6 separate regions of the Homo sapiens genome follow, and all the other regions are linked to region 6. The links are contacts of gene promoters, found by promoter capture Hi-C in blood cells and fetal thymus (Javierre and others, 2016). All regions are on one chromosome and are shown on one strand. The core of a region is centred on a gene start or on the middle of the fragment in contact, and the rest is flanking DNA. Distances in the headings are between cores, read along the strand shown.

Region 1 (3,468 bases), core at 471-2,970, 7.7 Mb before region 6:
TCTTTAAAGACAGTTTAATATTTAACACCTGTTTTAAAATACATGCTGTATGTGAACTAACTAAACAAAAATTTATTTTTGAGGTACCTTATACCCACGGCAATTTAAATGATCAAACTACAGATTAAAGTACAATGATATCAGACATATGTTGGTGCCTCCCTGCATTCATATTTTTCTTTCCCCTCTCCAACAGCCCTGGGTCTCCTTGGAAGGGACCCATATGGTTCTGAAGTTGATTCACTGCCTTGGCCCCAGTGACTGATCAAGAATGGCCATAGAACCTCAGCCAATTCAACTGGAGTGAATCTCAGGGCTAGTCTGATAATGCTGAGACATGTTTTCTTTTCCCTGGTAGGTAGGAACAAGGTTCCAGGTGACCCAAGAGTTTCTGGCCTTTACTTTTTGTTACGGGAGCACTGTTCATTCATTCATTCATTCATTTATTCAACAAATATGGATGAACATCTACTGTGTGCCAGATGAGAAAACATAACATTGAATAAAACATGGTCAGTGACTTCAAGATATTTATATTCTAATGGAGGAAACAGGGAGGTGTAGTGGGAGAGGGGTCTCATAGGGAACAAATTCTTGATATGAATCAGACTGCCTGTTTCAGGATATCTGAAGTAGAAGTGGACGTATCTGGGCATCCTTTTTATAGTTGATATATTTTAGTGTATCAGGCTGCCCTGAACCACCCAGTTATCTGAGGTTTTGGTGAAATGTCTTGCAGCAACCCAGCTGCAAAAAGGAGGGTTGAAAAGCCTCCTCCGTCACTAGTGCCTTCATCCAAACCTTCACTTGGAATCAGTTTTCTGGTTACATATAAATACTTGGACAATAATACCAGCTATATTACGGTATGGCATGGTATATGAATAATGACACCTTTCACTATTAAAAAGGCAAATAAAACAATATACTGAATGTGCATTAAACATCATCTAGGTACATCAGTGTAGTATGGGAAGTTAAAAATATATATATCATCTGGGGACAAGAGACAATAATACTTTGTGTCCTGGTTTTTGTTACAAGATATATTTCTTTATAAAATATTTGGATACAAACCACACACTCACCACTATCACAATAATGTTATCTGGCCCACATGATTTGATTATGCAGGGAATACAAAAAAAAATCAGAAAATCTAGAGCAGGTGTTCTCAACAGGTAGGCTGGCTAAGAGGAATCCCTTTCTAGGGAGTCTTACTAGAATCATCAGGGTAGTTTTCCCAGCTTAAAAACTCACATGTCACAGTGGGACTTCCATCGGGGCCCCTCCCTCAAAAGCACTAGCGTTTTTTCACTCTTACTGAATGTGTTCTCTCACTTATGGTAACATGGAAAAAACATTGAGGCCTCCTTGTGAGCTGCAGTATGCAGAGACGGAGATAAACAACAAATTGTCCAGCTGATGGATAACCAAAATCATTAAATCATGGTATATGTCACTTATGTGTATAAGCTTTGATCACTATATTGTTTAATGTTGGCCAAAGCTATAAACACCCAAGTAATCATTATTGATTACAAATTTGAATTCTGGTATAAAATGTATGCATCAACTATTGTGGAGAGTTCATATCAAATGGCTTCTTATTGCCAAGGAAAATGCCCCTTTGACTGCGTCACATATAAAACTCAATTTGCCAGCCTGGGCAACATGGTGAGACTCTGTCTCTACAAAAAAATACAAACAATTAGCCAGGTGTGGTGTCACGTGCCTGTGGTCCCAGCTACTTGAGAGGCTGAGGCAGGAGGATCTGCTTGAGCCTGTGCTCCAGCCTGGGTGACAGAGCAAGACTGTGTCAATCGATCAATAAAACAAAAATCAACTCGGAGGTAAAGAATTTATTTGCTCACTAGATATCCAGATCTAGACAGCTGGCTCACTATGAACCTGTGAATATCTAGCAAGATTAATATTATTACTAGTTGCCTAAGTATTTCACCCTAAGCTTTAGAAAAGTGGGAACAGGAGATGAGATATGAGTAGAAGATCCCAGGGTAGTTGAGGGTGACAGCAAAAAAGGGCAATGACGTATAAGTCCTCATAATAAAGTTTTCTTGGCTGTAAATTACATCTAAAGACTGTAAAGAACTAGCAAATTACAAGAAAGAGTGACTTTTATATATTTTGCCAACCTCAAATGTGCTGAAAACAGTTCTCCCTCTCACCCTTTCATCCCCGAAACTGATTCAGGCTTCAGTTCACCCTTTTACTGAACTGTGAATGAGCCTCTTAGGACATAAACTTGTGAGGTGAACAGAGTTCAGCATATGCTCTCCCAACAGATGTTCCAGCACCACCGCAAAGAGTTACAATGTGATTCTTATCTTTCTGCATACTCCTACTACATAGCTGTAGTAGGACTTCTAAATTTAAAGTCTTAAGATTTTTTTTAACCCACCTTTTAATTAACCCTCAAAAGATCCAGCTGAGTTTTAAAAATTTGGACTATGTTGCTAAAAAAAAAAAAAAAAAAAAAAAAAAGTAACAGTGCGAGTGTAAACATCTTGGAAGCCTAAATCTGAAAAACGTAACAAAACTTTTTTTTTTTAAGTTTAAAGCCTGTCAAGTTGGTAGCTTATTAAATTCCTCCAGTCACATGAAATTCACAGCAGAACAAGGATTCAAAATGGGTTAGGCACCGAAATGTCATTTAGCAAATCAATGATTCCCAAAAGATAGAGGTTTAGGGGCGGGGAAGGGAGAGGCTTTTCCTAAACTATCCAGGAAATAATTTTCACAGAGCGTTACAGACTAGGAGCGTCCCCAGCAGCGCTCACCCTCGGCCGGCCGGGTCCCGCTGCGCACCTCCCGGCCGCGCGTCCCCACCTGCGCACGGTGCCTCCAGCCTGGGCGTGGGCGCGGCCCGGGATCGCGGCGCCGGGGCCGCAAACCGGGGCCGCAAACCAGCGCCGCCACCCGCGTCCGGACCCAGTCCCCTGTGAGCGACACCTGGCAAAGTTTCACAAGGTGGGAGACAGCCCACCGCCGGCTTTCAGGAAGTGCACTGGGCGGTGAGGACTCGAACGAGCTCGTCCCGGGGCTGGCGCACTCACTTCGGAGAAACCCCTGCTCCCGGGACGCGTTCACTCCGGCCGCGCAGGCAGCCCGGGCACCACTGGCGGAGGCGGGGCGGCAGCTGGCAAGCAGAGGAGAATCAGGAGTCCAAAGCCGGGCCAGGGCCCTCAGGAAAGGTGAGAGCGGCCGCGTCCCTCCGCTCACGTGGGCCTCGCACGCTCCTCACCGCTCCCGGGCTACCCTCACGCCGCCCCACGGCCCCAGCCCGCGTCCTCCTCCTGCCGAGCACCAGCCTTTAGGACCGCACGGAAGCCGCCGAGAGGGAGGCGGCCGGCCAGCAGTTGGGCGTGGCTTCCTGGAGAAAGGCGGCCCCCCAGGGGGCGGGGAGAGCGACGTCACCGTCGATTCGCGGTGCTGATTGGCGGAGGT
Region 2 (3,857 bases), core at 909-3,408, 6.8 Mb before region 6:
CACACTTTGGACCTTGAATTGCCCTTAAATCACACATGCCAAGTGCCTAACACAGTGCCTGGTGCAGAGCAGATGCTCAAAAATTGTTGATCTTACTAGCACAGTGTTCTACTTTTCTCGATGATAAAATCCCCAAGGGCTAAGACTTCATTTTATTCCATTTACAACCTACTCCCCCTGCCTTACCACCTACAAGTACAAAGAGGGTGTGTTCTTAAATAGCTAAGGTTTGTTGAACAAAATGGAGTTTCCCTGCTGTGATCAAGGACTTCAGAAACTAGGAAGGTCAGTGGGGTGGCAGGTGGTGTTTGTGTATTCAGCCTTCGATAGGATCTCACATGCAGACCACCCAGGACTGAATTCATTTCACTCAGACCATGTTAAAGGACATGCATAATATTAATATTAAGGTCGTCCCCTCATGTGCACCCAGAAGTCAAGTCTCTACTTGTTGAGTTTTCAGCTTCCTCCCTGACCCGAAACATATGAGTCCCATGAAAGTGACTCAGGCAGTTGTCAGGCAGGAAGCTGGTTGAGCCCATCAGGTTACATTCCTTTCTGAATGTGCTCAGCTACCTTGAAGGCCCAGCCCTTTCTCACTTATTGCTATTCATTTTATTCATATGAAGCCACAGCCAGCTTGTGGACTGATAAGGAGGTGTGGGAATCAACCCATCAATGTCATTCATTCAGCCATGTGATGGAGGGCGTGGGGATGAAGCAGCAATTCCTCATTGCTAGTCATATAAGGGTGAACATGACATAAGGCATTAGCACAGAAGAAAAGACGACGGGTCTGCCCTCAAGAAGTTTGCAGGCTAGAATAAAAAAACAGAAGAAAGAAGTTTTTTTAGCTGCACCCTGGTAATTTTGTGTTTTTAGTAGAGATGGGGTTTCACCATATTGGCCAGGCTGGTCTCGAACTTCTTACCTCAGGTGATCCGCCCACCTCGGCCTCCCAAAGTGCTGGGGATTACAGGCGTGAGCCACTGTGCCTGGCCCATCTTGTTTTTATTTTATTTTATTTTATTTTTTATTTTTTGAGACAGAGTCTTGCTCTGTCGCTCAGGCTGCAGTGCAGTGGCGAGATCTTGGCTCACTGCAACCTCTGCTTCCCGGGTTCAAGCGATTCTCCTGCCTCAGACTCCCGAGTAGCTGGGACTACAGGTGCAAACCACCACACCCAGCTAATTTTTGTATTTTTTAGTAGAGACGGGGTTTCACCATATTGGCCAGGCTGGTCTCGAACTCCTGACCTTGTGATCAGCCCGCCTCAGCTTCCCAGAGTGCTGGGATTACAGGCATGAGCCATCGTGCCTGGCCTTCTTTTTACTCATATTTTCACCTGCAGTTGGTTGAGTCTGTGGATGTGGATTTATGGATTTATATGCTTTATAAAAGCATATAAAACAAGGTATTCTTCTGTTGTATGTGTTGCACATATTTTACCTGTTAGTATTTGGGTCATTACTTTTTTGGCATGAAAATTTATTATTCTTTTTCTTTTTTGCTGTGTTGAGAAAGAGCTTACCCACTAGTAGATTATTTAAAACAACAACATCATACCTTTATCTTCTTCCAGTGTGTTCAGGGTTTCACTATTGCATCTAAATCTTTGACTTGTCTGGAATTTATTTTGGTGTTTTATTTATTCCAAATGAGTAGCCAATTGTTCCAATATTATTTAGTTAACATTCATCTTTTCTTCACTCATTTGAAAGGGCAGCCCTTATTGTGTACCATTTTCTCACAAGGATTTGTCTGAATTCTTGATGATGTTTTAACTATTCCTTTTAACCACCTATTCTTACTCCAACAAAACTTATTACAATGGCTTTATAATACATTTCAGTATCTTGTGAGACTGCCCAATTTCTTCTAAGCAGAATGCAACACTAGTTAAGGGCTCAGTTTCTGATATCAGAATGCTTGCTTCAATTTTTATTTTTTATTTTTTGAGATGGAGTTTTGCTCTTGTTGCCCAGGCTGGAGTGTAATGATGCGATCTCAGCTCACTGCAACCTCTGCCTCCTGGGTTCAAGCGATTCTCCTGCCTCAGCCTCCCAAGTAGCTGAGACTACAGGTGCCCGCCACCACGCCCAGCTAATATATTGTATTTTTAGTAGAGACGGGGCTTCACCATGTTGACCAGGCTGTTCTCGAAATCCTGACCTCAGGTGATCTGTCTGCTTCAGCCTCCCAGAGTACTGGGATTACAGGCATGAGCCACCACGCCACCTTCAGAATCTTGACTCTAGCACATAGTAGGCAATTACTCAATCTCTCTAAACTGCTGTTTCTGCATCTGTAAAATGGGGGTGGTATTACTCTCTGTCTACTGGGGCTACATGAGAATTAAATGAGATTAGAACATCACAGAATTGGGCTCAAAACATAGTTAACACTCATTAAATGTTTGCTATCAAAAATTTTCAGAATAGTTCAGATTTTTCTTACATTACTTTTCCACATGAATTTTAGTATTATTTGTCAAATTCCACCTAAAACATTTATTTATTTTGTAATTGAATTGATATATTAATTCAGAGTAGATGGACACATCGTTATAGAAATGAGTTTCCCTCAGGTTTAAAAATCATGATACGTCTTTCTTCAAGTCTTCTTGTATGCTTTTTTTTTTGACAGGTCTCGCTCTGTCACCCAGGCTGGAGTGCAGTGGGGTGATCTTGGCTCACTGCAACCTCCACCTCCCTGGTTCAAGCTATTCTCCTACCTCAGCCTCCTGAATAGCTGGGACTACAGGCATGCACCACCATTCCTGGCTAATTTTTGTATTTTTAATAGAGACGGGGTTTCACCATGTTGGTGAGGCTGGTCTTGAACTCCTGACCTCCTGATCTGCCCACCTCAGCCTCCCAAAGTGCTGGGATTATAGGCATGAGTCATGGCACCCGGTTTCTTGTATGCTTCTTAGCAGTGTTTTATATTTTTCTTCACATGGTTTCTGAACATTTGATTTGGATTTATCTCTAGGAATTTCACTGTGCTATTGTTGCTATCACAAGTAATATATTTTCTTCCCATATTTTCTAGCAGATTATGGTTTATATACAGGAGACCATGAATATATGCAGGTTGATTTTGGCAGACACTTTGTTTCTAATAGATCATCTACCTGTTCTCTGAGGGTTTCTAGGCAAATGATGAAAACTTCTGCAAACAATGATACCTTTGCCTCTTTCCCATACAAAGTTAAAAGTGTCAAGAATAGACATCCTTATATTCTCCCAAAGTTTAAAGAAAATCCTTCTAGTGTCTTATGAAGAATCATTTAACACATGAAATATGATTATATTAGTTTTCTATTACTGCATAACAAATTAGCACAAACTCAGTGGCTTAAAACGACATACTTTTATTGTCTCACAGTTTCTGTGGATCGAGAAGCCAGGCCCAGCTTAGCTATGTTGTGTGCTCAAGGTCTCACAAGGCTGAGATCAAGGTGTAGGCTGGGATGCATTTTCATCAGTAGGCTCAACTAGGGATGGATATGCTTCCAACTGCCTATGATTGTTGTCAGAATTCATTTCCCTGGAGCTGTAGAATTCATGACAGCTGATAACCTGCTTCTTGAAAGCCACACACACACACACACACACACACACACACACGCACACACATGCACACACACGCAGAGTTTCTGCTGCTTCAAGTCTCTTACTTTAGGGAAAGCTCATACCCTCTTTAAAGGGCTCACCTGACTAGGTAGGACTCACTGAGGATAATCATCCTTTTGATGAATTCAAAATCAACTACTTAGGTGCCTTAATTACATCTACAAAATCCTTTCACCTTTGCCATATTCTATTGGTTTGAAGCAAGTCACGGGTTCTGCC
Region 3 (3,627 bases), core at 429-2,928, 6.2 Mb before region 6:
ACACATCAGACGTTGTCTTGCAGTGCCTCATCCACACTATCTGTACCACTGCAGGCCTGGATACGTCATGGTTTTCATGGTGCTATCTTGTGCCTCTTTGCACCTGCACGCACTGTGTTTCCTACATGGGATATCTGTGTTTACAACCAAACTCCCAGGGGCCAAATTATATCCTTTGTAAAGGACTTCAAACCACCAGGCATTTGCTGGAAGTTTCACGGAGGAAAACAAGCATTTTTCATCTTTTAATCTGTTTTGCTGGTCAAAGAGGAAAAGGAGTGGATGGACAAAGTGGGGCCCAAAGTCTGGATCTAGTTCTGACCAACAAGGAGAAATTGATGCACAATGGGGAAGTGACCTTGGCATTTTCAACTGGCAGAGCCGGTAAGTTTGGGCACAGTTCAAATGTGAGTCTGTAGCCACTAGAGAGAGGGGTTTCAAAGTCATGGAGAAAAGATGGGGGTGAATCCTGCACCAAGACTTATTGAGGAGAGTTCTTGGGAACAGTTACTTTTAGGATTCCACAGGGAAATCACTGAGCGAGTTTTACAAAATACTGCTGCTGGGTTCCCTCCTCCAAGAGATCTTTACTTAATTGGTTTGGGGTGCAGAGTGGGAATGTGCATCTTTAAAAGCAGAATTCCCAAACTGGAGAGCTCTGTGAGAGCTTCCTGCAGGAGACATTATTTGAACTGAATTTTGAAAGACAAGCTTGCATGCCAGGAACCCCATGTATATGAACAGAGGATATGAAGGAATGTAAATAATTTGCTATGGCTCTAAAGAAAAGAAGGGAGAAATCAAGACGTGAAGAGGCTTACACTCCTTGCTCAATAGTTTCTAATTTATCTTTTTGGATAAGAGGATGTTATAAAGGATTTTAAACTGAGGTATAAAATAATTAGAATTGGAATGTTTACCTGAACTTCAGAGTAGGCAATAGGTTGGCATGGATCAGAACTGTAGGTAGGAAAATTAATTGTTTAGGAGAGACATGAGACATGATAGAGGTGACAGAGTATGGACAGGAGGAACACAAAAGTGATAGAAGTAACAGGACTGTTGATCATTTAGTTAAAAGAACTGCGGAGGGACACACCCAGGTTTCTGAGAGATGTCCAGTAGTACACAGGTAACATCTACGGCTCGAGACAGGTTAGAGATTTTGAAGAAATAAGTTAAAAGTTGAAACATGAACCTATGGATATAGTGGAGGTCATACAAGAAGATCATATTATAATGAAAAGAAGAGGGCTTAGAATGGTAGGAAAGGAATCAGGATACCAAGCAAAGGAGTCAGGAAAGAAGGGAAGGGTGCTCTGGAAATCCTGGGAAGGTCAAAGAAGAAAGGGCTAAATGTCGCCAACAAACAAAATGAAATAAGACCTGGGATGTATTTTTTGGCCAAGGCAATTAGAAAATGATTAGTATCCTTATCAGGAGCAATTTCAGAGAATGTTTGGGTGGACGTCTAACTACAGTGGAGTCAAACGTGAATCAACGGTGAAAAAAGGACAATAGCCAATGTGTACACTTTTTATAAAAACCACCCTCCAAGGACCAGGCACTGGCCCTCTCTCCGGTGCCCACAGACATCCACACAGGCCCAAAGAATCAGGGATTGCACAAGCCAGAGCAATCGAACGGTTCTGAGTCATCTGCCGGAAGCCTTGCCCTCAATCAAGGCGGACGTGAAGCATCTACAAAGGAGGAATAGTCAAAGCAGCAGCGGCGGCGGCGGCGGCGGCAGCAGCAGCAGCAGCAGGAGGTGGGGGCCTCTGCCAGGTACCGGGCGGGGCAGGCACGGAGGTGCCCAGGTTCCCGCGGAGGCCACCTCTTCCCTGGAGTGCGTGAGAGAGGGGAAGGGAGGAAGGCCAGAGCAGGAATCAGAGCGAGGCAAAGGCGGGCAGGAACTAGGAGAATGACGGCGGGAGGCGGCCGGGAAAGAGAGTCGCGGGGCTGTGGGGGTCGCCCTGGCACCAGCCGGGGTCCCAAGCCCCACCGCGAGACCCGGCGAAGGCCGAGGGCCGGGTCCCGAGAACAGGTGCGCCCAGACCCGCCCTGAATAGGAAGCTGCCCCTGGAGAGGGAGCGTCTGTTTCTAGGCTTGCGATTTGCTGCGCTGTGATTTGCTGCCGGATGGGAGCGGGGGGTGACGCGAGCAGTGAGTTTGGAAGCGCCGGAAGCTTGGGCGGGAGCCCCGGGAGGGCGAGTGGGAGGAGCCGCCGCTGCGGAGGAGGCTCCGGGAGTGCGGGTGGCGGGGCCTGGAATTTCCGTGGCGCCTGGGGCAGATCGGGGAGGCGCCGAGTCCCTGCTCCCCTGGCGCCCAAGCTTGCCCCTGTGCTTACAGCCTATTGGTTGCACCTTCTCCTTCCCTTCCTGTCCCCCCCCTCCGTTCTTTCCACCCCTGCCTTCATCTTTCTGTATCTTTCATATTCTCTTCTTCATTGTCTGCTTCCTCTCAAATGGGATGGGGTTGGGGGTGCTTCTTCACCTACGCCCCTCTCTGTTGCAGCCACCGGCGTTACTTTAACCAATTCCTCACTTTCCAGACACTCTCAGTCCTCTGGCTGCTGCTTCACTCCTGAGACCTCTCCATTCCAAAGGGCCTCACCCAGGGCTGCTCTCCGGGCCCCTCCCGCTTCCCTGCCTCGGGCTCTGCGTAGACCGCGCCCTCTTCCCTGGGTCCACTCGCAGGGGCAGACTCGTCTCCCCAGTTCTCCCAGCACACCCTGATGGCTGGGTCTCAGTCTCCGTTTCGCGCGCGCGCTCTCCCCTCGCCCTCCTCTGTCTCTTCCTTTTACTACCTCCAGATATTGGAAATTCCACAGAAATAGGTGGATTTCTTCCCTTGTGCCTCCACTAGATGTTCTGTGTAGTTTCATCCATTCTCATGGAACCTCTCGGAATCGGGATGCTGATGGCTCCAGGTCTCTGGCTCTAGACAGTCTACTCATCCCCGTCCCTAACTGTTTACAAACATCCTTGGCTGTCTTTGTTACAGGTTCACCTGGTATGGTGTGTTCCACGCATCTCAAATGGAACAAGTCATATTCCCCATTCCAGCCTGACTCCTCATTTAAAATTCCAGTGGTTCACGACCCACCCTGAGTATGAATTTATAACAGCTAGGCGCCTCGGGACTGGGCCCTCCTGTGCTCTGTCCCTATGTGAGCAGTCACTGCCTGGCAATTCCAGCCCCCACTTCTCTATTGCAGACAATCCCTCTGCTTTCAGCAGTCCCTGGCCCATGGTGGTGGCCTACGCGCCAGCTCCCCAGCCTCTTTTCATACCAAATACTGAGCCGGGTTATCTTTCTAAAGCCCCAATGCACTCATATGAGACGTTTGTTTAAAAACCATGCATGGCTTTCCAGACCATAATCTCAAGTTCAAACTCCTAAATGTGGCATAAGGGTCCGTCCTATCTCACTACCACGTGGCTCACAGGAAACCATAGAAACCCACCCCAGGGGCACCACACAAACCATGCCCTTTGTCTTCCTGCCACATTCTTGGCACCTGCTAATTCCTCAGCCTATTATTTGCATCCCCCATTTCACCACCTACGGAATGCCTGCCCGGCTTTTCTTTTTTCTTTTTTTTTTTGATATGTGGTTTTAATAAGT
Region 4 (3,396 bases), core at 266-2,765, 6.8 Mb before region 6:
GCTTCTGCTGTCAAGGGAGTCTCAGTGACAGCTGGAGGTCCTGGGCAGTCAAGGTCAACTAAATTCTTCCCAATATTTTCACTTCATGTTTGGAGTCCCTGTTTTATACCAAATGTCCTCACTTTCATATAAGAAACCCTAAGTTGGAATTCAGTAATTTGTAAGATCAGACTATCATCTGATTTTTGTTAAGTCAGTGCTATCGATGAAGAAGATAACATGTTCTTAGGGTGTCACAGAAACTCCCTGGTTCCCCGATCACATCTTGAACAGAGAATATAAAACCTTGAGCTTAAGCTTATCATTTCCTTCAAACTCTGCCACATAGTTTGAAGCAGCCAAGTCAACACTGGTTCTTATATTCCTCATGTACTTCCAAATGGTCTGTGGTAGCAGCCACGAAGCCCCAAAGCACTGCCTAAAAGGCACTTCATTCCTTGTGACCACAGGGTATTGTCTAAATAACCTGCGCCACTGCATACCATGAACAATGAGAACCACATCCTCTAAAGCTGAGCAGAATCTCGCTGTTTTCAAACCCAAGCAGGCCAGATAACTCCATCCCAGAGTCTCATTTTCTTAAGGGTGTGTTACCTGGAACTACTGGCATCAATTAATAGGACAGCCAGAGAGGATGTGGTTAGAATATGTTCCCAGTGCTGAGCACAAACTTGGCACGCATATGTCATGTACTGAATAAACAAATTCTGCATCTAGAAGTGATACATCCCCCATCTAGGAAGACATGCCAAAAATCAGTTTCAACGTTTATAAGTTATGCTGTGTTGTTTTCTTTACAATGACAACATAAAGCAAATCTAACACAAATTCACATCAAAAAATTTTGCATAAGATATCCAAAAAAAATTTACATTGTTGGAGTTACTTTTCATTTTTTCCATGTGGTCAAAGGTTTAACTCTCTGGTCACTCCTATAACCTTAAGCTTCCATATTAGCTAATGGCCAGAGAGTAACTGAGTACTATTCCTACAAGCATTCTCTCCTCCTACTAGCAGGCAGTCAGGAAGGGTTGTTTGAGGAATATTATCCATTCAACTTGGCAAACTAGGGGTCAGCAAACTTTTTTTTGTAAAGGACCAAACAAGTAAATATTTTAGGTTTCGTGGGCCATACGGTCTCCACACAACCACACAACTTTGTTGTTACGGCACGAAAGCAGCCCTAGACAACAATATGTAAAAGAATGGGCACGGCTGTGTTCTGATAAAGCTTATTCCAAAAACAGGCAGCTGGGCAGCTTTGGCCCATGAGCCATAGTTTGCTGACACCTGTTTTAATCAAAAGAAATTTCACAAATCGAAAGCAAAAAGCCACAATAAAATTGAACAATTTTAAACACGTACCCCTTCTCATCTGCTGGACTCGGCTGTCCTTCTTTCACTGGCTTCTGTGCTTTTTTCTCTTTATTTTTCAGGTACTCCTTTAGTTTTTCTGCTCTATCAAGATATTCTGTACACTTTGCCCTGATACTTTGCTTGGCTTTATCACCCTGTGCTTCATCTATTAAAGGGAAATGAGAGAGATTTTTTTCCATTAGTATTCTATGTAGAAAGGTTTGAACTCTTAAATATGTATTTTTTCAGACAAGGAAATTCTATGTTGGAAGAAGGAGGGAAGATCATCTCTAACTCATCATAGCCAATGATTATCACCTCTTTTCTACCCCTTCCTCCAGCAGGGTTGGAGACCAACAGTGGGTCTGAATCAGAAACAACCTAAGCAAGACAGCAGGGTATATTAAGTTAATGTTAACTAACAGGAAATTATTTAATATTCTGAAGCTTTCATATTTTTCCCTTACATTTTTGCAGATAGTTCAAAGTTGCTTGTCTTAGACAAACCCAATTATAAAAAAGACAAATAGAAGGAAAGCAGTATTAATCATTTCTATGAATGTCTACAAAAGCTTTATTTCAGAAGAGTAAAGTGATGGAAATCCCATATATTCTGTGTAATACCAACATCGTAAATTTTACTACACAAAGGCCTCTGTCAGAGCTGTTTTCAAAGTGAACTTTGGCAACACGTGCAATAGATGGGATGAGCCCCACATAGCTTACAGGTTATGACTCATTCTTAGTCTCACTTTAACATAAAACCTCAGAACTAAATGGGAGAAGCTCAAAAGAACATCTTCAATCATCTAACTGCATTCCATTTAAGAGCTATGAGGGCAGGGGTCTTAACCATTTCTTTCCATTGTATCCCCAGTGCCTGCCACGTGGTACACACGCAATACATATCTGTAAAGACACAAATAGAATGTCTCCTAACCTATTTTCCACTGACTAGACTACATTTTAAGATGTTTACATATACAAAGTAATAACTATGATGGCTGTCACATTTGCTAGCTACATCTCAATACTTAAAAATCACTAGAAAGAAAGTGGAGTATTTTTTTTTTTTAACAAATGGATCGTTTAGAATTGTCTGGCATTATATTTCAATTTTTTAGAAATGAAACAGAATAAATTTTCCTTTTCGTGTTTTTAAATAAAATATAACCTATGGCCTCACATTTAACGACATGAAGAAAATACTGCACAGCATGCTGATAGAGCTGAAGGGCTTCTTCGTAGTTCCCAGCCTTGTCTTCTTGCGCTGCTTTGCTAGCCAGATCTATCGCTTTCTGTTTGAGGGAGGCAAAATAACAACATTTAAATCAAAGCATAAACATAAATTTGAAGTAAATAATCATACTGAAAGTTTTTTTTTTTTTTAAAGCTTCTCAGCTTGCTGGGCTGTGAAAGAAAACAAAAATAAGTAAAAAATAAACAGTAACTAAAAAATCATTTTTTTCTAACTCACAACTGTATTTTATTATAAATTACAAGTTGAAAAGATGCAAATTACATGTTATAGGAATAAATGCTACTGAATGTTACTTTAGTACCAATCGCTAACATTTACATGTAATTTTCACTTAGCTAAAGTTAAATTTAGGGCTAATAAGAAATAATAGAATGTGAAAATTCAAACTAAACAAGCATTTAGAGAAATTCTCAAAAATTAAATGCTGCTTTAATCTAAAAGATATAACAATAGTGGAAATGTAAATGGGGTGAAACCTCTTCAGAAGCAATGGGGCAATGAAATATCAAGAATCTGAAAAATACTCATATATTTCAATCCAGTAATTAACTAAAAGGTTTACTGAGCACAGATATTATCAGAGAGGTCTTTTAAATAACAAAAACAAAACCTGGAAACTTAAATCATAAAGGATGCCACAAAACAGAACACCAAAGGATCACTAAAATAACATTAAGAAATATTTGTAATAATATGGAAAGTGTTAATAATGGGCATTTTTAAAAAGCAGGACACAACTTTTTATATGTAGCAGGAATTTATTTGAAACAACAGCAGAA
Region 5 (3,430 bases), core at 879-3,378, 8.0 Mb before region 6:
ATTGGTCACTCAGGAAACCACTAGACAGATCAAAATGCACAACCACAGTATTTTAAGAACAAAGTCCATACTAAATACAAGCAAGTCACACCAGAAATGTGGGCCATAGTCCCCACAGCTGCTGCCATTGCCACAATGGTGAATGAGGATGGTAATCCAGTGGATTAAATGCCACAGCACTCTGAAATTCAGCTGCCCTCTTCTTCATTATGCAGTCTCCTGGTTGCTGTAAATGTCAGACCAGATTTTAGAATCCCAAAACAGTTGATCCTGTCACTCTGCCCCCTTATGCTTGTTTCAGTGGAGGAACTAACCCTTATAATAAACCACCGTACTCTGCCATTTTCGGTAATGTCACCTAGAGATTGTGTTCTTAACCACTTCAACATTTACTAAAAATACACAAACCTACGATGTGAAGTAAAACCAGCCAAAACTGTAAGACAGAGCTGGTAGTCCCAGCTACTTAGGAGGGTGAGGCGAGAGGATTGCTTGAGCCTAGGAATTCAAGGCTAGCCTGGGAACATAGCAAGACCCACTTAAAAAAAAAAAAAGAAGAAGAGGAAAGAAAAACTGTAAGATAGTACTTGGAGCCTGCACACAAGATTATCAGATAAACTATTAAGCCATATAATTAGCACTAGTTCATTTGCTTATTATTCTGGGGTATATATTTTTTCATCAAGATTTATGTCATTTTTAATTGTAAACTCTATGTGACTTTACAAAATCCCATATGAGAACTAATTTTCAAATTTTCTCATGGCAAGTAGACTAGAGGTTATTAGTTCTTTAGATGATTCCTGCCCACTTGAGTTCAAAATCTTTTATCTGTATCTCACATCCTTTTTCTGTTCCAGAAACTCTACCAGGATACCACAGGGCAGCTAGTCACCATATCTCCTTAGGCTTCTCTTGGCTGTGATAATTTCTCAGACTTTGCTTGTTTTGATGACCTTGTGAGTTTTGAGGAGTACTGGTCAGAGATTTTGTATAATGTCTTGCTATTGGGATTTATCTGATGTTTTTCTCATGGTAAGTCTGGGGTTATGGGTTCAGGAGAGGAAACATACATACATAAAGTACCATTTTCTTCACATCACATTAAGGGTACTGTCAACATGACTTACTAAACTGTTAATATAAAACTTGACCACTTGGCTGAGGCGGTTTGTTCAGTTTGTCCTCTGTAAAGTTCACTGTAAAGTTTCTCCATGTAAATGTTCCCCCATTTCATACTATAGTTTTTGGTAGGAAGTCACTACGTGCAGCCAACACTTAAAGAGTGAGGAGTTACACTCCACCTCCTGAGATGACGAGGCACCTACATAAATTGATGTTCTTCTGTATGAAGAGTATATATGTTAAACCCAGTCAATTGTGTAATTAAAAGCCATCTGTCGGTCAGGCCTGATGGCTCACACCTGTAATCCTAGCACTTTATGAGGCCAAGGCAGGTGGATCACTTGAGCTCAGGAGTTTGAGACCAGCCTGGGCAATGTGGTGAAACCCCATCTCTACAAAAAATGCAAAAAAATTAGTCAGGCATGGTGGCACATGCCTGTAGTCCCAGCTACTTGTGGGGCTGAGGCAGGAGGATTGCTTGAACCCCGGAGATCGAGGCTGCCAGTGAGCTGAGATCACGCCACTGCACTCCAGCCTGGGTGACAAAGTGAGACCCTGTCTCAAAATAAATAAATACATACATAAATAAAAGCCATCTGTCATTCTACAAGATTACATTAATATTATAATCATCATCATTTCCACTCCTGCTTTCCCCACCTTACTTGAAATTAATTTTTACCAGTATAGATGCAAAGCCATTATTTCTTTTATAAGCTTATTCTAATCAGTACTACCAAAAAAGCCTTATAAATGATCTCAAACATTCAAGACCTATATTCTATTATATGACTCTATTACAATTTAATTGAACACTATCCTGCTGATCAACATCACTCGCAGTTGTCATGATTACAAATAATATGGCAATTAAGCTGCTCTCTTATGGTAAAGGTGGAGATTTTTAGAATTTTTACAAACTGTAGAGTAGTGACCCATAACAAAATAATTTCATGGACTGCAATTAGCCTTCTTTCCTTTTTTTAAAAAATGAAATAGAATACAGTACAATAGGATTGGATAAAATATAGAATATATCACATCACAAAGTACTTCAGAAGTAGTACATGATTATTTTGAAAAAGTGTGTTTTTTTCCTGTGTATCCACGCATCAATATTCTTGCATGTACATAACCTGTACTGAAAGTTTTATTTTAAATTATTCTATGGACCAATAAGATTGAAAGCCACCTCTATAAGTGGAATTGCTCTAATAAACAAAATTTTCAACTTTACAAGTGACTGGCAAAGTGTCCATACTAATTTACATACTCTCCAGCAATGTACGAAAGCTTCTATATCTCTAAATCCCCCTAATTGCTTGATACTGTCATATTTACCTTAAGACAATTTGAACAGGCCAAATTGGCATCCTGTTATTTGAATATGTATTTGCCTGATTACTAGTGAGTATGAAAATTTTTTCATGTTTTTATTGGCCAATTGGGTCTCTCTTCCTTTCAACTGCCTATTCATATCCTTTGATCAGATAGGATTAGGGTTATTGACCTTTTATTTGACTTGTACATTACAATTATATGTGTGTGTATGTTTATATAGTGTGTGTATGTTTATACATAGCTAGATATACACATTTATATATAAATGTTGTTCATAGGGCCTTTTGTTAAAATAAATTTTTCAACTTTAATACAGTAAAATTTGTCAAACATTTATCCTTTCTGGTGTGAGTTTTTTGTGTCTTGTACTATAGAAGAAAACTTTCCTGGTTCTTATGTCACATATATTCTTCTAATAGTTTTAGATTTTTGTTTTTTACCTTTCATTATTTAAAATTTATTTGTGTTGGTTTGTGTCCTCTGAAACAAAAATAATTATTTGTATATGGTGTGAGGTAGACATCAGCTTATGTTTTTAACCAGCTCACAAGTATTAGTACTGCTACTAGTGTAGAATTTACTATGATAAAATTACACATCAGAAAGAAAAAGGTTTTAAACCTTTACATTCAAATCTTGGCTTTTGCTATTTGTAATAATAAAAAATTGGAAACAATATCTAACCATAGGGAACAGATAAATTGTTTATTCATAATGAAATACCATATTTCTGAAAAGGATACATCTCATAAATATCAGTATTAATAAAAAAAATTTTAAACATCTATTGCCCTTTTCTCCCCAACACAGTCAAACTTCTTGAAAAGGCTGAATGTGACCTCTTTTTTTTCCTGACCACCTAAATCTCAAACAACTTAAACCTTATTGTCATTACTTCATAAGAAAGTAAAGACAGTTAACAGTGCAAAATCTAATAGCTATTTTTTAGTCTTCATTTTCTAAG
Region 6 (3,825 bases), core at 853-3,352:
AGAACTGAGACTTAAATCCATGTCTCTTTGACTTGGATTTTAACAAGTATATCATGATGGACTGCAGCATATAAAAATACTTGCATTATGTCGTTTTGATTGGTCCCCACAACAAGATCATGAGCTAGGACAGATATCATTATACTCCAATATGACGAACAAGGTCAAAAATACAAATATAAAGCACTAAGAACAATGAGCACTCATGTGCTCAATAAAAATACATTGTTATTGCCAAAAAAATAATCTGTCAAACTGGCCTCATAAAAGCAAAGTCACTGGCATCGTTTAGGCCTGACCCAAAAAGCAATTAATGCAAATGTACCATCCTTTGACTAACAGTAGAGGAGGGGAAAAAGGTCAAAATCATGTAAGTTAACACAAGAAAAATAAGTTTGGGGGAGGTGGGAGAAATCCTTTTTAAAAAAATCTAATCTCCCTTTCCTTAAAATTTACCATTAGAATTAATATATTTGTATTTAACAGATTCCAAAGAGTTACCAGTTTGATTGGTTTGGTATGAGGCAGAAGATAGTGCAGGAACTTCCGAAGGAAGAAGAAAAAGTCCATCCAGAATGCCATCAATTTCAGCCTGCAGATTTGGCTCCACATTAGACCGAAGCTTAGATAAGAACTCTACTGCACCAACGTCAACCAAATGTTGGACTGCTGGGGGATACTAAAATAAGAAGAGGATGATCTTGAGAATAACTGTATCAAAATCTCTATAACTTACAGCAATCAAAACATAAAATTATTTTTGGTATATCAGATGTTCCTTTTCTGAAAAACAAATCCTTCATGGCTCTGCCCCGAAGTAAGGCACTTCCATGAGGAGCACATACACCTATAGAGACATACATCCAACACTTGATAACATTTATGAAAGATGAGCCAACACACTGAACGCTAGAAATGCACATTATCAATCCCTACTCTTATTTTTTTAATGGGTTACTTTTTTCCACTGACACTCACCTTATGGTCCCAGCCCCAACCGGTCAACAGGATGTCAAAGTAGTTTAAGATTCCTCTACCATTGTACAGTGATTTAGTTTTGAAAGGTTAAACTTACACTTTGATATCTGACCCCGATAACTAACTACTCTTGAGGTAGGCATAAGAATACCAATCTAAAAGCATATGGGCAAGCAACTTAACATTGGTATTTATGAATCACGGTTATGTAACATTATTTTTAAAGTGCTCCCTTTCATACTGACATATCTAGTTTTTAAGATGTAAATGTCAGAAAACAAAAACAGAATACAAATATTAACCTCCAAAGATAACTCAAAAACACAGAACATACCAAAACTCAAAAGAAGTTCTGTGTTACTTCTGAGCACAGCAGAGACCATGTGGGATTCAGTATCACAAATAAAAGATGAACCATATACCCAGATTAATTAAAATTAAACATCTCTGGTTGATTAAAAAAACTTTTAACCCCAATTATTTAACTTTCAATAAACGCTACAATTAAATGACTAAGAAACAAGTCACTCGTCTGATTATTTTCTTTATTTCAAAATGACCCTACCTTAACCAATCTGCTTAACAGGTTCAGAACCTCTTCCTTCATCGGAACGGACGGGAAATTGAACCATTCCAGCAAATGAAGAAAAAGTTGCCTCTCCTGAATGAGATCAGCGTAGCAGATTAAGTTGTGCTCAATCTTGCAGAGAATACTCTTGAGAGCGCGCTCCCTGATCTCGGCCAGCTGATGACCTGTCAACGAACGGCACAAAACTATTTTATTTCCCGACTGCAAAGAGACTACGTTATTTATGCTGTGGGCAGGAGCGGCGTGAAGACGGAATAAACCAGTTTTTTTCAGAAGCAGGCCACTGGTGCCTTCGGGACGCGAACCGCGAAGTTTACACAAAGTCCGAGATGGGTCCCCGGGGGCTATCCTGACAAAGCGGGGGTGAAAGAGGGAGCGGTCGCGGAGCGGCCGGCCGCGGAAACGTGACACGACCATTCTCAGCAAGTGGCCAGAGCGCGGGGGGTGCCTTGGGCGAGGGGCAAGCTGACAGTTACCGAGTTTCCTGATGAGCCCTGCCAGGACCATCTCGTCCCGTCAATCTGCAGCCGCCGGAGAATTAAACTGCCGCGCCACTGCGTCCAGCCACAATTAATGTACCCCCGGAAACACGTCCTGTGGGACGGTGAGTTCCGCAACGCCTGCGCTCACCAGGAGTAGGAGTCATTACGTGAGCCCTTCGCGGCCCCAGCGTCGCCAGGAGAGCTTCCAGCCTCTCTAGAATCACTACTGCGCACTTCCTGGACAGCAGTCTCCGTCGCAAGAAGCGGAGGGAAAAAAAAAAGCAACAAGCAGGGATAGAACCAGCGTTGGCCGCCGCGCACGTCGGGAGTTGTAGTTCTGGCTAGGCCGTGCGTCCTGCACCGATCTCCGGGCCCGCCGCGGCGCCCGCTGGCCTGGGGTTCCGGCTTACAGCGCGGGAATTCGGGAACCCAGCGCGGGCTGCAGAGGCCCCAGCAGGAGCCCCGCCTCCCGGCTCGTCGACGGATTCGTTCTTGGCCCTGCCAATCTGATTCTCAGCTCCCAGAACTTCACGATTTAGAATGTAGACTTTTGCTTTGTGACAGTTCTCCCCATCCCCGACTACTAAATGACGAACCCTCTTTAACTGTGAAATGTACCTGCAAAGTCAAGCAGTGTCTTTGGATACCCAAGTTCAGATATGAACAAGCAAGCTACAAAAGCGGGGTGGGCGGGTATGAGTGAGCAGAAGAGAGAAACCGGGCTGCAAAAAAGGAAAATAAAGGCGGGACGTGGGGGTATGATTTGCTGAATGGTACCAAAGTTGATTTTTTGCACCGTGCACAGTGATCGAGCTGAGCAAATTATTTTTTTTTTAATTATAAGCAGCGGTAAGAACAACAACAAAATTACATTTGGAAAATGATTTGCATTTTCTCGGTCTGATCATTTCACGTTCCCTGGGAAAGGGATGTCAAGGCAGGTAAAGTGGGCCCTCGGTATCCCTAGGTAATTGGTTCCAGGACCCCCGCAGATACCCAAATCCACCCATGCTTAAGTCTCTTTTATAAAATGGTGTAGTATTTGCATATAACCTACACACATCCTCCTATATGCTTTAAATCATCTCTAGATTGCTTACAATACCTAATACACTGTAAATGCTATGTAAATAGTTGTTACACTGTACTTTTATTCATATTATTTTTTAATTGTTGTATTGTTATTTTCAACTGTGGGGTTTTTTCCCGAATATTTTCCATCCCGTGTGTTGAATTCTCTGTGTGCAACCAGTGGACAGCAAAGGCCTACTGTATTCCCATTCCTATTTTGCCAAAGAGGAAACTTAGAATCACAAAAGTACCCCCACACAAAGTCACATTAACTAGTAAGTGACAGATTGAGGAGCTGACCTGATGTTTCTTTGTTCTATTTAGAGTGCCTTGCTGCCTCCTCATGTGTGTCAATAGGAGAGTGATGATATTTGAGTTGGATCTTAAAGAGTAAGTAGGAGTTTGCCACACAAAGAAGTTGGGTAAGGAAATTCCTGCAGGAGAAACCTGTATTTGCAAAGGCAAGAATCCAGACGGAGTGTGTCAAATTCGGGAAAAGAACAAAATTCAAGGTGGCCATATTATCTCTGGGAAGAAGAGAGGAAGGGCAAGATTGCTGCTAGCATGCTGGATATTCTCCATTCCACCTTCTAGTGGTTCCTCCCAGCTCTTCCAGCTCTGCATCAACTGACCTGAACAGGCAAAAAGACTGCACTATCCAGGCTGCCTGGCCCTCTGGCTTCCAGTTGGTTGCCGCCGATAGGA

The links. Contacts are between HindIII fragments. The CHiCAGO score rates a contact against its expected background, and 5 or more counts as called.
Region 1: a contact is called between a fragment that was not itself captured here and the fragment with the promoter of RTTN in region 6, in 1 of 17 cell types (total B cells). The highest score is 7.4, in total B cells.
Region 2: a contact is called between a fragment that was not itself captured here and the fragment with the promoter of RTTN in region 6, in 1 of 17 cell types (total B cells). The highest score is 5.5, in total B cells.
Region 3: a contact is called between the fragment with the promoter of SERPINB8 here and the fragment with the promoter of RTTN in region 6, in 1 of 17 cell types (total B cells). The highest score is 25.1, in total B cells.
Region 4: a fragment that was not itself captured here is called in contact with the fragment with the promoter of RTTN in region 6 in 1 of 17 cell types (total B cells); the score reaches 8.0 in total B cells.
Region 5: a fragment that was not itself captured here is called in contact with the fragment with the promoter of RTTN in region 6 in 1 of 17 cell types (total B cells); the score reaches 5.7 in total B cells.

The regions. Positions count from the first base shown.
Region 1 is chr18:62,519,511-62,522,978 of GRCh38, forward strand. No RefSeq gene overlaps it. Among named protein-coding and RNA genes, the nearest start is that of ZCCHC2, 1.8 kb to the right of the region's middle. RefSeq lists silencers at 2,769-2,878, 3,109-3,378, 3,409-3,468. The HindIII fragment of the contact is 493 bases long and covers 1,475-1,967 here.
Region 2 is chr18:63,427,119-63,430,975 of GRCh38, forward strand. No RefSeq gene overlaps it. Among named protein-coding and RNA genes, the nearest start is that of VPS4B, 6.6 kb to the left of the region's middle. RefSeq lists an enhancer at 1-1,198. The HindIII fragment of the contact is 5,711 bases long and covers 1-3,857 here.
Region 3 is chr18:63,968,403-63,972,029 of GRCh38, forward strand. SERPINB8 (serpin family B member 8) reads left to right here and starts at 1,679. Exons shown (of 7, transcript NM_002640.4): 1 at 1,679-1,768. LOC105372165 (a long non-coding RNA gene) reads right to left here and starts at 2,102. Exons shown (of 3, transcript XR_935576.3): 1 at 921-2,102. It also overlaps a transcript of HMSD not described here. RefSeq lists enhancers at 1,511-1,560, 1,591-1,760, 2,053-2,347 and silencers at 1,821-2,020, 2,031-2,090, 2,161-2,380. The HindIII fragment of the contact is 1,474 bases long and covers 710-2,183 here.
Region 4 is chr18:63,408,925-63,412,320 of GRCh38, forward strand. VPS4B (vacuolar protein sorting 4 homolog B) reads right to left here. Exons shown (of 11, transcript NM_004869.4): 2 at 2,543-2,654; 3 at 1,366-1,522. Among named protein-coding and RNA genes, the nearest start is that of VPS4B, 12 kb to the right of the region's middle. The HindIII fragment of the contact is 572 bases long and covers 1,230-1,801 here.
Region 5 is chr18:62,178,060-62,181,489 of GRCh38, forward strand. The region is part of intron 1 of PIGN (phosphatidylinositol glycan anchor biosynthesis class N); the gene reads right to left. Among named protein-coding and RNA genes, the nearest start is that of PIGN, 7.3 kb to the right of the region's middle. The HindIII fragment of the contact is 576 bases long and covers 1,841-2,416 here.
Region 6 is chr18:70,203,585-70,207,409 of GRCh38, forward strand. RTTN (rotatin) reads right to left here and starts at 2,103. Exons shown (of 49, transcript NM_173630.4): 1 at 2,044-2,103; 2 at 1,544-1,731; 3 at 502-679. The coding sequence starts at 2,074. LOC105372180 (a long non-coding RNA gene) reads left to right here and starts at 2,205. Exons shown (of 3, transcript XR_935599.3): 1 at 2,205-2,990; 2 at 3,445-3,510. RefSeq lists enhancers at 1,803-1,932, 2,143-2,252, 2,171-2,800, 2,263-2,502. The HindIII fragment of the contact is 5,232 bases long and covers 621-3,825 here.